3 separate regions of the Homo sapiens genome follow, and regions 1 and 3 are each linked to region 2. The links are contacts of gene promoters, found by promoter capture Hi-C in blood cells and fetal thymus (Javierre and others, 2016). All regions are on one chromosome and are shown on one strand. The core of a region is centred on a gene start or on the middle of the fragment in contact, and the rest is flanking DNA. Distances in the headings are between cores, read along the strand shown.

The links. The method cuts DNA at HindIII sites, captures the fragments that hold promoters and counts their contacts. A CHiCAGO score of 5 or more calls a contact.
Region 1: a fragment that was not itself captured here is called in contact with the fragment with the promoter of CDH10 in region 2 in 1 of 17 cell types (M2 macrophages); the score reaches 6.1 in M2 macrophages.
Region 3: a fragment that was not itself captured here is called in contact with the fragment with the promoter of CDH10 in region 2 in 1 of 17 cell types (M2 macrophages); the score reaches 7.2 in M2 macrophages.

The regions. Positions count from the first base shown.
Region 1 is chr5:26,704,474-26,707,173 of GRCh38, forward strand. No RefSeq gene overlaps it. Among named protein-coding and RNA genes, the nearest start is that of CDH9, 330 kb to the right of the region's middle. The HindIII fragment of the contact is 1,970 bases long and covers 412-2,381 here.
Region 2 is chr5:24,643,547-24,646,246 of GRCh38, forward strand. It overlaps CDH10 (cadherin 10), which reads right to left and starts at 1,432. Exons shown (of 12, transcript NM_006727.5): 1 at 1,048-1,432. It overlaps LOC124901174 (a long non-coding RNA gene), which reads left to right and starts at 1,163. Exons shown (of 2, transcript XR_007059125.1): 1 at 1,163-1,526; 2 at 1,765-1,968. RefSeq lists an enhancer at 1,129-1,724. The HindIII fragment of the contact is 4,637 bases long and covers 63-2,700 here.
Region 3 is chr5:26,684,717-26,687,529 of GRCh38, forward strand. No RefSeq gene overlaps it. Among named protein-coding and RNA genes, the nearest start is that of CDH9, 350 kb to the right of the region's middle. The HindIII fragment of the contact is 433 bases long and covers 1,144-1,576 here.

The DNA.
Region 1 (2,700 bases), core at 147-2,646, 2.1 Mb after region 2:
TTCACGCCATTCTCCTCCCTCAGCCTCCCAAGTAGCTGGGACTACAGGCGCCTGCCACCACGCCTGGCTAATTTTTTGTATTTTTAGTAGAGGCGGGATTTCACTGTGTTAGCCAGGGTGGTCTTGATCTCCTGACCTCGTGATCCACCCACCTTGGCCTCCCAAAGTGCTGGGATCACAGGCGTGAACCACTGGGCCCGGCCAAGCGTTGTTATCATTGGTGATGACGGTGCCATACGTATTATTGCTCCTGAAGACCTTCCAGTGGGACAAGAGGGAGAGGGGGAAGGCAGCGATATTGATAGTTCTAATTCCATATAGGCTTAAGCTAATGTGTGTGTTTGTGTCTTAGCTTTTAACCAAAAAGTTTACAAAGTAAAAATCTCTTTAAAAAATTAAAAATAGACAAAAAGCTTATAGAATAAGGATATAAAAATGTTTTTGTACGGTTGTAAAACGTGTTTGTGTTTTAAACTGTGTTATTACAAGAATTAAAAGGTTAAAATAGGCTGAGCATGGTGGCACACGCCTGTAATCTCAGCACTTTGAGAGGCCGAGGCGGGCATATTACCTGAGGTCAGGAGTTCAAGACCAGCCTGGCCAACATGGCGAAACCTTGTCTCTACTAAGCATACAAACAATTAGCTGGGCATAGTGACAGGCTCCTGTAATCCCAGCTACCGAGGAGGCTGAAGCAGGAGAATCACTTGACCCCAGGAGGCAGAGGTCACGGTGACCCCAGATGCACCACTGCACTCCAGCCTGGGGGATAGAGTGAGACTCTGTCTCAAAAAAAAAAGAAGTTAAAATAAAATCGAAAAGTTTATAAAGTAAAATTTCACAGTAAGTAAAGGTTAATTTATTATTAAGAAAAATATATTTTTTCTAAAATTTACTGTAGCCTAAGTGTACTGTGTTTATAAAGTCTACAATAGTTACAATAATTTCCTAGGACTTCACATTCACCAACCTCTTACTGACACCCAGAGCAACTGCCTGTACTGCAAGCTCCATTAGTGGTAAGTTTCCTATATAAATGTACTATTTTTTATCTTTCATACCATATTTGACTGTACCTTTTCAATATTTAGATATGCTTGGATTCACACATGCTTACAATTGTTTCACAATTTATTAAAGTAACATGCTATACAGGTTTGTAGCTTAGAAGCAATAGTCCGTACCATATACCTTAGGTGTGTAGTGGACTATACCAGCTAGTCTATACCATCGTCATTCTGTGATGTTCGCACAATGACAAAATCACCTAACAATCCATTTCTTAGAATGTATCACTGCTGTTAAGATGTATGACTAGAGGGAGGGAGAGAGAGAGGGAGAGAGAATGCACACTTATAACGTATTATTAAACTTTTATAGAATAAATATTTCAATGTCGAAAGATTACAAAATAATTCTCATTATTTCAGAAATTTAATATGCAATGTATGCTTTTGATTTCTGTGGAAATAAAGGTTGAATATGTATCATTTAGATAAATAGCACCAAATTCCATTTGGCAATGTTGTAATAGACTGGCTAACCACAGTAAAAACAACAGGTTATACTATTCTGAAATCTTTGATACAGTAGGATGGTGATATTAAAAATAGTTACACTGTATTTTCTTTGTTCTTTACAATTCAGTATCAGAAAAACAAATTTAGTAAATAGTTCTGTTCATATAATGGACACAAATAAGTGGGGAAATAATACCAGTCTTTAGAGACTTTGGAAAAAAGGTAAAGAATGCAAAGGATGCCAAAGTTTCTTTTTCAGCATGAAGGTGAAATACATACAAATAATCAAAATATGAGTTAAATAATATCATAAATATTGCATTGAATATAATTAATTAATGAAATATTTCCAACAACTCAGGCATTTTTTTTCAAAATCAAGTACAAAATTATTTTCAAAGCCTTTTAAAATGTTGTCATAAAATTACTTCAATCATTTTAAAGTTTTTCTTTTTTATCCTGACACAAAAGCCATACAAGGACACTGTAAATAAAAAAATAAAATGATACCAATTTTCCTAATGACCATAGATGCAAAAATCCTCAACAAAATGGTAGCAAACTGAATTCAACAGCATATTTAAACGTTCATTCACCACTACAAAGTGGGATATATCCATGGGGTGCAAGGATATTTTTACATATACAAATCTATAAACATCATACATCAAATTAACAGAATGAAAAACAAAAAGCATATGGTCATCATTATCAATTCAGGAAAATTATTTGACAAAATCTAACATCCTTTCATGGTAAAACCTCTCAAACATTAGGCACAGAACGAATGTACCTCAACAAAACAAAGGCTATGCATAACAAGCCCACAGCTAATATCATACTCTTTGGTAAAAAGGTGAAAGCTTTATCTCTAAGATGAGAAATAAGGCAAGGATAACCTCTCTGAACACTTCTATTCAATACAGTACTAAATATCACAGGCACAAAAATTAGGCAAGAGAAATAAATAAAAGGCATTCAAATAGGAAAGGAAGAAGCAAAATTGTCCATGTTCTGACAACATGATCTTATATAGAGAACATTATAAACATCACATTAAAAAACTATTAGAACTGATACGCAAATTCAGCAAAGTTGCAGAATAAAAATATGCAAAATAAATAGTGTTTCTATATACTAACTTATGTGGTTTGGCTGTGTCCCCACCCAAATCTCATAT
Region 2 (2,700 bases), core at 182-2,681:
AGAAAAAATAATGTATCTCCAAAGAGCTGAGAAGTAATGGATGTGCAGTTTTGGATAATAGAAGCTTTCACTGGAATGAAGGAATGAAGGACCACAATTATAGGAAACATCTGTTTTTTCAAAGCAAAAGATGATAGGTCATTTTTAAAACAATATTTGTCTTTGTACCTGTAGACTCCCCTTTTTTCATAATAAGGAGACAGTAGGTTTTTATTTTAGTGGCATAAAAACAATTTCAGACTACTGCTTTTGCCCATAGTTACAGTGCTATCAATAGTTACTTGTTGGGGACATGCATTTATACTTGCAATATGCTGCATTAATTTAACAACACATAAAATATGGATTTTATTGCAGCAGAAACAATAAATGCTGCAACTGCTGACTACATGCATTTACTCTCCCTCTCTTTACCTCTCTCCCCCCAATACTTCTGACTCAGATATAAAATTGAAAATAAGAATTCTGCCTATTCTATTTCTGATGAATGTCAATCTATTGTATTTATGTAGATGCTTAGTGACCATTGACAGTTTCAAGGAATCTGTCTTCTGCCTGTCATTTCTGTTTATATTGAACGTACAATGAACTATGACTACGAATAAGTGCAGAGTGAATCCATTCATATGGAATGCAAAGTAATGTTAGATGATGTTAGAGTTCACAGTAACAATGTTATCTCTTGAACTGATTTTTAAAATAAAAATGAACAAGTCTGGGCATGACAAATTCACTTCATAACATATTTTTTAGCATTTGTTCCAAGTGAATGAATTCACAAACTCTAATATCATGACCCACTGTTGAGCATAATATATAATTTATCCAGCTTTACATTGCCTATATAGATATTCGAAGCAGTTGTTTCTAGAATTAAATATATAGAGTTGTATGCTTATTTAAGTATTAAAGATAATTATTTTGAAATAATTGCTAAACACAACTTAAAAACAAACATTTATCTCCTCCCTCTCCCCCCCCACCCCTCAAGTGGAGGAATATATAATACCTTAACGGAGTTAAAAGAAAGAGGTGAAGTCTTCCTACCTTTTTTATCAGCTTCTGGATAATGGAAGTTGGTTCCAGCCAAAATAACCCAGGAGAAATTGTCACTATGTCCCCTTTTTGTTTGTTTTCGGCTGTTATTTTCTATCACTGATTCTACTTCAATCTAACTCAAGCTCTTTCTCAGCATCACTTTTAACTCTGGACAGCAGGGAACCGAAGAAAACGGGGGCGAGCTCTCTCTGATTGGCTTTCATTCAGTGCTTCTGATTAAGGGGAAAGGAAAAAAAAAAAAAAGGAAAGGGGGGAAAAAAGCTCTTCCTCACACGGAGAGAAAGGTTCTGCTGATAGAGCTGCAGCACTCGCCATGGGAAGGTTAGAGACTGTGGAAGTGCTGGCTTCTGCGAGCACACAGCGATTTGCAAGTGAATGCGAGGGGAGGGCGCATCCGAGAGGAGGGCTTTGCTTGAAAGGCGTCCCCTCCCCCGCAGGGCAGAAAGACTCTCTGTTTCAAGGCTAAGGTAATCAGCCCAATCTAATCCGCCTGTGTCCGTAATACAATCTCAGGAACAGGACTGCTTCTTGCAATTTTTTTTAAAAAAAGATAGTTCTTCTGGAATATATATTCCTGCACCGTCCTTACACCAGACTACCGAAATCCAAGTATTATCAGAGCGCCAAGTCAAATTGCAACCAGATTTGATATGTTACCAGAGTGATTTTTCGTTGTGATTTTAAATGTTTATTTTTTGCTTTCAGGGAACTTTCTCGGCTTGATTTTCCAAATCCCTTCTCTTGTTGCTTATTGTCACAGGAGTGCATACCTCGCTCATCATTTTGGAATGTCCGCGAGCCAGTCTTCTCTGCCTAATCTTTGCATTTTAATACTTTATAGATAAAATATTTTATTAAAAATGTAAATATGTAATTAGTGTTATTAAAATATTTAGACTTTGAACTTGACACAGTCTCCTTTTTTTTCTTTTTAACGTTGTTTTTTCTCATAAATACGGGTTTCATACCCAAATGAGTGTGTGGACAGATGTAAATACATTTGGATTGTTCTATCTACTTAAACATCTAACTGTCTCGCTATTTATCAATCTCCACATCAAATTGCAATCAACCAAACCTTACCAAAGGATGTCAGTATAGCTCCACAAAGTAATTAACATCTTTGCATTTTTCCGGCTACAGGTAGATTCCTTTTAAAGTGCCATCCATAAATAAATTATATACACATATACATACATATATGCATATAAATACATATATGTCAATTATAGTTTTAAAGCTAGAGGAGAAATTACGAAGATCATTTTGGGCTGTTATTATTATTATTTCTTTAGCAGATAAAAATGCTCAGAATGTTAAATTGTCACAGGACTAACTGGAGGCGGGGTCAAAGCTGTAATACCACACTCCTACTTCCAGTTTAGTATTGTTTCCGGTTGCCATACTGCCTCCTCTGTACCTGTTTGATCATTCTAACAGTCAACAGGCCCCTTACATAATCAGCACAATGAAAAAGGAAGAAACTCAATCTGAGGGGCAAAAAAGAAGTGAGAGGGAGATTCAAAATTAGATTCCAAAAAGGTTTTAATGTATCACAGTGTTATTATATGATGAATTTTACCAATTAGTTTTATATTTGAAAACACCAAACATTTCCACTGAGCTGAACAGCTAAATGAC
Region 3 (2,813 bases), core at 110-2,609, 2.0 Mb after region 2:
CCAGGTCTCATACCATTAAATTTCAATAATGTTAATTAGTTTAAATATTTTAAATCATCTGTTCTAGGCAGAATTCTAAGATGATCCCCAGGATATATACTTGCCCCTGGAGTGTGGTAAGACCTACAAATACAATGAAATGACCTTCCAGTGATAAGGTTACTTTATGTGATAAAGTTGAAAGGATTTTGCAGATATAATGAAAATCCCAAATCAGTTCACTTATGTCAACTGATGCACAGGATAACAAGCAGGATATTATTCTGGAGTATAAAACCTTTTAAGGAGGGATAGGGTCTTCCTAAAGATAGGAAGATTCTCCTACTCATTTTGAAAACGTGAGCTGCCATGTTGCAAAGCTTCAGAGAACTTCAGACAAAGGGTGTCAGCCTCTAGAAGCTGAGCAGTCTCCAGCCAATAACCAGTAAGAAGCCAGGGCCCTCAGCACAGGGCTGCAAGCAAATGAAAGCTACTAACCACCTACATGATGCTGGAGGTAGAATATTCTCTGAACAAGCTTGCAGATAAGAATAGAGCACACTGAACAAACGCCTAGTGTGACCTTGAGCTGAGGACCCAGTTAGGTTATGCCCAACCACTCGGCCATGAGAACAGTTGATATAAATTTGCATTGTTTTAAGCTGTTACATTTTTTTAAAAGTTGTACATTTTTAAATGCTAACCAAGCTATGAAAAATAAATACTTGTTTTCTGAATTTTCAACTAAAAATTACACATAAATGATATATTGATTTTGCTTTTGAAAATCTTTTTGTTGATTTAACTTGCATTTCATGGCTTTAGTTCTGATGAGTTAGTGAGACTCAACTGAGACAGGGGATCTCTAGATCTCACATGTGAACACATTTAAATGATGATGAAAGGCTTCCTTTAGATACTGGCCTCAGCAACATTGGCAAGTGTAAAACGTAGCAGAAGAAATGAGATTTACAACTCAAACCAGAGACAAAAAAGTTATAAAACTTTGATTTAAAGTAGAAATACTTCAGACCATTATAGAAAAACGATCCAAATAAGAATCCATCCAGCACATTACTGACTATGAGGCCTTTACTTCCAGAGAAGTATTTTTAATGTGGATTTACCAACTGAACTGGGATTACTTACAAACAGCAGAAAATAAGCTTTATATCAGTATATTTCTTTGTAAAGTGGTCAAAAATATATTGTCCAAGTCAAGAAAAAAAAAATACTCAGTAAACTTTATCTACTTACCATGTTAGGAGTGATAATTTTTCTTAAAAATTCCCACTGTTTTATTTTGTGTACGTTTATGTGTATTTAGAAGTAAAACAAGCACAGAATAATAAAAGGGCCTTAACAGAAAATCTTGATTATTACACAGAGATGAGTTCACTGAGAATGGCTGACTACTGATGGTCCCAGTGTTGAAATCAACAATCAACATGGAATGCCCTTCAGTAGGGGCAAAATTTGAATTATGTTTTGAAGGTTTGATGAGTCTTATTGCCTAAAAAGAAAATGGTAGAAGAAAAGGGCAAAGAGAACAACATAAAGTTTAAGCTGGAAAATTCAGCTTGGAGCAGATTATGAAAGCTTTGCTAAAGATGTTTTGTTAATTTTAAGCAATTATATCATATGTTACATAAGATTACCTGATGACAAGGCTACTGAGATAACATCTGAGAGGAAGATGAGTTGATACATGTTGGGAGCAGTTATGTAGAGGAGAAATCTGATGAGGAGAAAAAAAATGGATTGAATTTCGGCCTTGGAGGGAAAACTAATCTGTGATCTATATTTCTGGTGGTTCTATGATCAGCCCATTTTTAAATAAGAAACCAGTCAAAAGCTAAAGGCAAAAATTTTGATTCTTAAATCCTAAAGAAAATCTGTCAAAAGTAGGAATGTTTTCAAGCTCCTAACACAATTTCCTTTATTTTCCAGTTGCCAGAAGAAAGCTTGGTTGAGTCATCAGGAAACTGAGACAAGAATATGGGTAAACAGAGATAAGTTTAGTAAAGCAAAATGGCTTTTACTGTATTTTTTATTTTTATTTTTTATTTTAAATGGAGTATTGCTCTGTTGCCCAGGCTAGAGTGCAGTGGTGTAATCTCGGTTCACTGCAGCCTCCACCTCCCAGGTTCAAATGATTCTCCTGTCTCAGCCTCCCAAGTAGCTGGGATTACAGGCATCTGCCATCACAACTGGCTAATTTTGTGTTTTTAGTAGGCGCAGGGTTTCACCATGTTGGCTAAGCTGGTCTTGAACTCCTGACCTCAGGTGATCCGCACTCCTCAGCCCCGCAAAGTGCTGGGATTACAGGCGTGAGCCATCGTGCCAGTCCCAAAATGACTTTTTATGGATTTGAGGGTATCTAGAAACACTTGATACCAGAATAGAAGAAACAAGATGTTACAATATTTGAATAGAAATATACCTAAAATTTTGGCAGTTCATACATGGAGCTCTGATTGCTTTCTACTCATGTTTACTGGAAATTTTTAATAATTGAGATGCTTAAAAACAAAACTTTGTTGTTTCTTAGTGAATTTAATGACTCTCATGTAATATCCTACAGTTTTGTAATAAATGAATATAGTTGACGAGTCAAGGACATCAATGCCGTATTAAGATGAAAAGGCAATGCTCAAGGTTTAGTTATCTTTCTTCAACAGAAAACTGGTTTGATTTTGCACAACTGAAATATTTCATATCATGATATCCATGACCAATTGCCAGTAGTAAAAGCCATTGATACTGAATTTGTGAAATCGAATATATGCTGTAACATAAAATGTTATAGTTATGGAAGCATAAGTCAAAATCAA